Regions from separate parts of the Homo sapiens genome. Here region 1 is linked to region 2. Evidence: promoter capture Hi-C in 16 types of primary human blood cells and fetal thymus (Javierre and others, 2016). All regions are on one chromosome and are shown on one strand. The core of a region is centred on a gene start or on the middle of the fragment in contact, and the rest is flanking DNA. Distances in the headings are between cores, read along the strand shown. Region 1 overlaps PLA2G7 (phospholipase A2 group VII). Region 2 holds the start of MEP1A (meprin A subunit alpha).

Region 1 (3,821 bases), core at 1,145-3,644, 88 kb before region 2:
ATAATATAATGTGAATTGCCAGAAGCAAAGCTCAGAGAAGATGCATTAGGATCAGATTATAGGAAGCCTTCAATTTCAAGCTGAGTTTAACTCCCTATTTTAAAAAATTTAATCTGAATGGCTACAGAAGTAAAATTTCTCAGAATGAGTGACTTTGCACCTGACACCACTAAGATAGGACTAGGGTACCAAATGAGTGGTATAAATTTTTATGTCCCCTGGGAAATAAAATCATTTTCCATGATTCCCATATTTATAAGTATAAATTCTTAAGCTATATTTTTACCTCCATTTAATCGTGTTATTCTGTTTTACTACTACATATAGAATTGAAAACATTAAATAAAATTAACTGGAATATGAAGAAGCTAAATGTAATTCTGAATGTTTTATTATCCTTCACAGCCTTTGTGTGAGTAACTAATGTATTCTAACTGGAATCCCTGCTATATGCTGTAATACCTGTGGAACCTTTCTTTAGCAAGTAGAATGCCTTAAAGAATTAAAGAAAGTGTCAAAAAATTACCAATTTAATCCACTGCCTTTGCCTCATCTCTAATATTCTTAACCCTTCTCTACTCCTTTTAGTCATCATTTGAAATTGTGTAGTACCACCAATCCTGTGCTGAAACAATGGCTTTTGCTTGTTCTAATTTTTCTTACCGTGACCAAAAGTCAAAGAGAAGAGCTGCCAAATTCTACCTAGAATATCATGTTGCTATAATTAAACTCCACTGCCCATAGTAGATAATAAAAGGCAAGAAATTGTTTTTTACTCTATGTTTAGGGAGTCTTGTATCATTGCAACAGGTTTTCACTGGGATTTTGCCTGTTTTAATCTACTTGTCTGTCAAAGTAATGTAAAAACAGTTTTTAACTTCGACACTGAAAAGGAATCATCTTTAAAATTAAAATTTAGGCTGATATGAATATTGTATACTGTATTCTTTCTTTACATCTAAAGGGAAAAAATTCTTAGTCCAAGCTTCAATCACGATTACAGTATAGCCTACATTTTAAAATATGAGTCCTTTGGGAAAATACATTAAAATTCTCTCTCTCTCTCTCTCTCTCTCTCTCTCTCTCTCTCACACACACACACACACACACACACACACACATAATTTTAGACAGTTTTGAAACAAGACTTTTAAAAAACCTATTTTAATCCTAATTGTATTTCTCTATTCCTGAAGAGTTCTGTAACATGATGTGTTGATTGGTTGTGTTAATGTTGGTCCCTGGAATAAGATTCTCATCATCTCCTTCAATCAAGCAGTCCCACTGATCAAAATCTTTATGAAGTCCTATAAAATATAAAGTGTTAATCAACATATTAAACTTTTGAGAGCATTAAACAGTTTGGTGCCCCTAGGTGGCAATAAAGATTTACAAATTACACAAGTTCCGTTAGGATGGTAGAGACGATGTGCTCTGTATCAGCTGCCTCATGGCTGCTTTAGCAGCTGAATGCAAACGGGATAGGAGTGAGGCAACCTGCTGTCAGTATCCTCAACATGGAAGTCCACTCTAGGCTTCATACAAAGAATATTACCTTTAACAGTTGGATTTGCTTTCTATGATATAGAGGATGTAAAGCAGCAAAATTGACTTTCTCAAATTTCTGTTTTCAAATTGATATACTGCTTTGTTCCATTGTAAACCAACTGGAAATAGTTTAAATAGTACTAAAGCTGTATTAAGATAGACAGCTTTGTCCTGAGATTCATCTGGTTTAGGTCATGAAAAAAATAGTTTCTTACCTAAATGCTTTTGTAAGAATGCTAATGAAGCTTTGTTGCTAAGATCAATAGCTACATTTGAATCTATGTCTCCCTTTAATTTGAGCATGTGTCCAATTATTTTGCCAGTTGCAAAAGTGAAGTCAGCAAAATTCTGGTGGACTGAACCCCTAAAAGAGAACAAGACATTTAAAAGTCACATTGTTTGATAAAATTATTATTTTTTTAGTTAGAGTGTAAGAAAGGTACTGGTCTTGTTGGTCTGTTTACTGAAAACCAAAGAAGAAATAAAACTTGTAATTTGATCTACTTAGATGTGTTTCAAGGGTCACAGGCTGTTTGTTTAGGGATCCCAGAGTATATTCTTCTTCCCTCTAGAAATACAACTCAAAGAATCTTGTTCTTGCTTGGTATCTTGATTTTAGAAGAAATGATTCTTGCTTTTTAGTGAATTGGAATACTTCCAGTTTGAATACTGGAATGTGTTCTGTATTGAAGGGTCCCTGAACTCAGAGCCAGAGCCTGCTACCTGCCCTCACCACTGAACGTGGTATGTATTTGATGCTAGTCACTTTAAATTTAAATCACTTTAGATTTAAGCCTTAGAGGAAACAGATTTCAAACACCACTTTTCCCAGTATTAAACTGTAAGCACTTTATAAATATCATTTGCACTGCTCTGTAAATTCATCAATAGCCTAACGTCAAATAGAATGGCCTTTTTTAAGTCCTCGTTTTCTACCACCACTGGGACATTTGACACTTGATGGCCTTCTTGCACTTTTTTTCTTTACGTTTCCTTAACATTGCACCTTCCCTTCTGACGCTAACCACTCTATGTTCTTCACTGGCTCTTCACCCATTTCCCATTGGCTGAATGTAGGCATTCCTTAGGATTCTACTGGCAGACCAACTCTTTTCTCACTTTGCAATCTCTTCTACTTCAAATGTTTCATCTGTGTTATCATGTAAATTATGTAATCATCCAATGTGTGGCCAGACATCTGTGTACAGATTCCTCAGTTCTCAAGCTAAGAAATTGTGAAGTTAAAAGACATCTTCCCAGTCCTGCCCAAAGCTGCTCTGCCTCTTGACTCTGCTGGTTCTTATAAGCAACCCATCATTCTTTTAGTCATCTAAGCTCAAAACAGGGCCACTTAACTCCCTCTCACTCTTCCCCACATTGTAGTAGGAAACTTGAATGTCAGAAACATAAAGAAGATAAACAGCAGGAATACAAGAGAATTGCGAGCAGAAGCTTGGATGATCTGACTGTAGAGAACTGCCAGAGGAGAAGAAATGGAAGGAGTGGTATAAATGACAGGAGAAGCAGCAAAGAGGTGGGTCATAGTAGCCAAGGGAGCAGGAAGAGGGGTGGTCAGCAATGTTGAACAGATGCAGAGAGCAAGGTTGAGACTCTGAAGAGGCTGCTGGTGTGGCAGGCAGCAGGCCTTTAGTGTCTTTGTTTTGGCATGCCCGTGGGGGCCCAGGAAGCTAGACCACAAGAGTCAAAGAGTGAATAGAAGTAAGCACATGCAATGACTAATATTGGCTATTCTTTGAAGGTTTCTAGCAGAGAAGGGACAAAAGCAAAGGTGAGAGCTTAGTAAGGAAATAGGGTTGAGGGAAGGTTAGGTGTTCTGTATTATTTCCGTTTTAGAATTAGAAAGAGTTGCACATACACATAAGCTAAATGAAGTCCTTGCCTGAAATACCTAAACCCTTCCTTACTATCTAAACTCTCTTGATCTTACAAAATCCAATTTTAGTGTCATCTATGAATCCTTTTCTGTTGGAAGAGACCCCTCTATTCTCTGAGCCCATAGTGTTTATTGCCTATACTCCATATATTTCCTTCCTGCCTCTTCTCTTCTCCTAAATAAACCAGATTTCAGATAGGAAAGGGGTGAGTTCAGGTCCATCTTTGCTTTGTAATATCTCATCGAGAGTTCAAAACCTTATCAGGAGTTCTTTTTCACCTCCAGGATACAAGAATTGCCAACACGTCATGGTACCCCATTATAGCTTTGGGGAATTTATAAACTCATATTCTTTCTCAACAGGTTAGTATATTGCAGG
Region 2 (3,729 bases), core at 61-2,560:
TGGTATTTTACTGCTATTTGAACCTATAATTTTTCTGATTACTTACGAGGCTAAAAATCTTTTTACATATTTATTGGCCATCTGGGTCTTTTGTGAATTTGCTACTCATATTTTTTGTTCATTTTTTCCTTAGATAATCTCCTGTTCTTTTTATTGATTTGTAGAAATTCTTTACATATCCTGAATACTTATTCTTATTCAATTATATGCAGTATACATATCATCTCTCACCTGTGGCTTGTCTTTTAATCATGTTATGTTTTTGTCATAAAGAAGTTTAAATTTTGATACAGTCAAATGTATTATTCTTTTCCTCTGTAATTTCTATGTTTTTTTCATGTTTAAGCAATCTTTCTTGACCTAAAGGTTAAAAATATGTTCCTATATTTTCTTTTTTGAAGTTTATATTTTCATATTTAAATTTTTAATCTATCTAGAATTTATTTTTGTCAATGGTATCAGGTGTACATTTAATGTATTTCCTCATATGGAAATGCAATTATTCCCACATTATTATGAAAGAGACCCAAGTTTCCCTCTTGCCTTTTTGGTTCCTCTTATACATAAAAGCCCTGCATATGCTTGCATCTATTTGGATATTACCTATTCCAGTCTATAGATTCATTTTATCTTTATTTTTGGAACTATTACACTCTAATTACTGTAACTTTACCAAAGCTCCTGATATTCTTTTGAGGCAATTCTTTTCTCTTTATTCAGCCTTTTCAGAATTTTCTTATCTATTCTTCAATGTTTACTCTTTCATGCGAATTGAACCATTTGTCAGCTTGGCAAGTTCCACTGAAAACCCTGTTAGATTTTTTACTAGAATGACAATGAATTTATAGATTAATATTAAAACAATCTATTAATATTTCATACATATGTACATATAGAGAGAGAGTCAGGTATTTTTATGTCCTTCAATAATTGCTTTATAACATTTCCATAAAATTTGAATTTATATTTTATTAGAATTAAATAATAATAATTTTATAAATTATTTTTATTTTTATTGTTAAGGGGATCGTCTATCCTGTTTTATGATATGAATGGCTATGGCTGCCCTATAGGAATGTTATTAGTTCTTATATGCTCATTTCCGTATTAATTTTTCAAACTTTTCCCCAGTCTTTGGAGCTTAAGCATTTAAGGTAAACTTAGTGTTTGTCCTCGAAAGAGTCAATGATGTTATCTTTGACAACCTTTATTGGCACTACGGTACATATGGAAGGGTCAAAGTTTCTAATACGACCGTCAGGGTAAAGTCTAAACGGTATTTATGACAAGGTGTGTGCTAAAATCAGCTCACTTGCAGCAATGGCTTGGATTAGATCCACTTGCATTCTCTTTTTTACCTTGCTTTTTGCCCACATAGCAGCTGTACCGGTAAGTCGAGTCCTGCTTTTTGGATATTTAGAAATATTAATTCTAGTATACATTATCCATTTTCTGTATATTTATTTTTTTCAGATTAAGTATCTTCCTGAAGAAAATGGTAAGAATTAGTTCAAATGCACAGAGAGTGTTTTTGAACTTTTTTCCTTCGGCAAGACTAATAATAATTTTTTTTCTCACTTTTAACAGTACATGATGCAGATTTTGGTGAACAGAAGGATATTTCAGAAATCAATTTAGGTGAGTTCAATTTTTGTGTTATTAAAGTCTTGAAATTACTTGAAACCCAGTGGTGGGATTACTGAACACTTTCCTTCCTAATACTGTATTGTGATTCTCTGGGGGAGAAATATTTTTTGGTGCTTTGTGAGAAATTGCATTTTCTGAAAGATAAAAATGCGGAAAGAGAAGATAGTTAGACCAGACTTTCTAGGAGAGCTAGGAAGTCCTCAATGGATCTAGAAATATGTAACAAGTTTCTCTTTATAAAAATTTTATTTTTCCAATTTGTATTTGGAGGAAAAGGAAAGCAAATAGATAATTATTCCGATTGTTAAAGAAAAATATAAGAATAAGCCTCTGGTTATATTTAGTGGGGAAACAAAACCCAACCCCTCCACTGGCCCATCATATTCACTAACAACTCCTCGGTTGAGACTTAGGGGTGAGTGTAAAGCAATCTCCACTTAGACATCTCATTTACAAATATATTTCTTGAAGAAATTCATCAGTCTCATCCATTACTGAGAGGAGAGAGAAGCTGAGTCATCATCTCTGTTTTCTCTCTGTTGTCCTGCTTCTGAAATGAGAGAGAAGCCTCTGCATTCCCAGTGTCTTAGGTCAGGATTTGTGGAAGCAGAGCTATTCATGATAATAAGTACCTTCAGTTTACAAAAGCTTTTATATGCAATTGCATATTTATTTGTCCAGTCTTGTCGTGGAGTAAGTGCTGTTTTCATTTTTTTGGGAAGCGACAGGTGGCTTCTCATGGGTAGAGTGACTTGCTCAAGATCATAGGTAGCAGTGATGGGGCTTACTTCCAGATCTTGTAGCCCATACCTTAATAGCTCAGTGCTATCTGAAGGCTACAAAACTAACATACCAATAACTAAGGGTCAATTTTTCTGGCTTTGTCTCACTCACAGAGAAGCCAGTTAGTTGATATTTAATTGGAATAGCTGGAGAATGGCTGCATAGGCAGAGCAGAAATAGTTTAGGAAGGTAAATGGGTGAATGCATAAATGGGTCCCAAGACTTCAGAGCCAGGCACTAAAATATCTCTCTTTAGAGTTAGCCATTGTGTAAACAGTTCAGAGAATCTGCTGTATTTTACAACAGAAATGGGATTAGAATTAGAGTTTTTCTAATCTCATCATTATTTATCTAATAAAAATTAATTATTTACCTCTTTGCCATTTTGTACTCTTTAGGCCCACCACCACCTCTGATCCTTGACCCCAGTGGAGAAATCTCATTACCATGTAAATCTTCTTTTTAGGCCATTTCAACCAAACCACCAGGATTGATTGGGTTAGCCATATGGCCAGATTCTAACACCATAAATTGGGAAAATCATATAGAGAAAATTGCCACCTTTTTACCATCTTCTTTTTGCCTCACAAGGCTGAGTAAACGTTTCTTATCCTCCATCCCAAGACCTGCTCCTCTCAGTCCTTTTCATTTCAGTAAATGTGACTCACTCCTTCTAGATTTTCGGCTCAGAATGTTAGAGTTGCCCCTAACTCTTGCTTTTCTCTCACACCTGACACACAATCTGTCAGCAAATGTTATTCGATCTACTCGATCTACTTTTCTTTTTTCTCTTTTCTTTTCTTTTCTCCTGAGATGGAGTGTTGCTATGTCACCCAGGCTCGAGTGCAGTGGTGCCATCTCGGCTCACTGCAACCTCCGCCTCCTGGGTTCAAGCGAGTCTCCTGCCTCAGCCTCCCGAGTAGCTGGGATTATAGGTGCCCACCACCATGCCAGGCTAGTTTTTCTATTTTTAGTAGAGATGGGGTTTCTCTATGTTGGCTAGGCTGGTCTTGAACTCAAGACCTTGTGATCCGCCCACCTTAGCCTCCCAAAGTGCTGAGATTACAGGCATGAGCCACCACGCCTGGCCTAGATCTACTTTCAAATCATACTACAGTTGAGACTTTTCAGCACTTTTACTGCCCCTACCTTGGTCAGCCACCTCATGTCTGGGCTGGTCCTTTGACAGGCCTCATAACTGTGCTTCCCTTTCTGCCTTTGCTCCCTAAAGACTATTCTGCACAACATAGAGCTCTCCTTTTAATATCCTTCAGATCATGTCATTTCTCTGCTCCAACC

What was found. The method cuts DNA at HindIII sites, captures the fragments that hold promoters and counts their contacts. A CHiCAGO score of 5 or more calls a contact.
Region 1: a fragment that was not itself captured here is called in contact with the fragment with the promoter of MEP1A in region 2 in 1 of 17 cell types (monocytes); the score reaches 6.4 in monocytes.

Annotation. Positions count from the first base shown.
Region 1 is chr6:46,703,390-46,707,210 of GRCh38, forward strand. PLA2G7 (phospholipase A2 group VII) reads right to left here. Exons shown (of 12, transcript NM_005084.4): 11 at 1,764-1,912; 12 at 812-1,307. The coding sequence ends at 1,171. It overlaps TDRD6 (tudor domain containing 6), which reads left to right. Exons shown (of 4, transcript NM_001010870.3): 4 at 1-930. Among named protein-coding and RNA genes, the nearest start is that of TDRD6-AS1, 17 kb to the left of the region's middle. The HindIII fragment of the contact is 1,207 bases long and covers 1,792-2,998 here.
Region 2 is chr6:46,792,079-46,795,807 of GRCh38, forward strand. MEP1A (meprin A subunit alpha) reads left to right here and starts at 1,311. Exons shown (of 14, transcript NM_005588.3): 1 at 1,311-1,389; 2 at 1,474-1,498; 3 at 1,588-1,638. The coding sequence starts at 1,321. The HindIII fragment of the contact is 4,281 bases long and covers 1-2,293 here.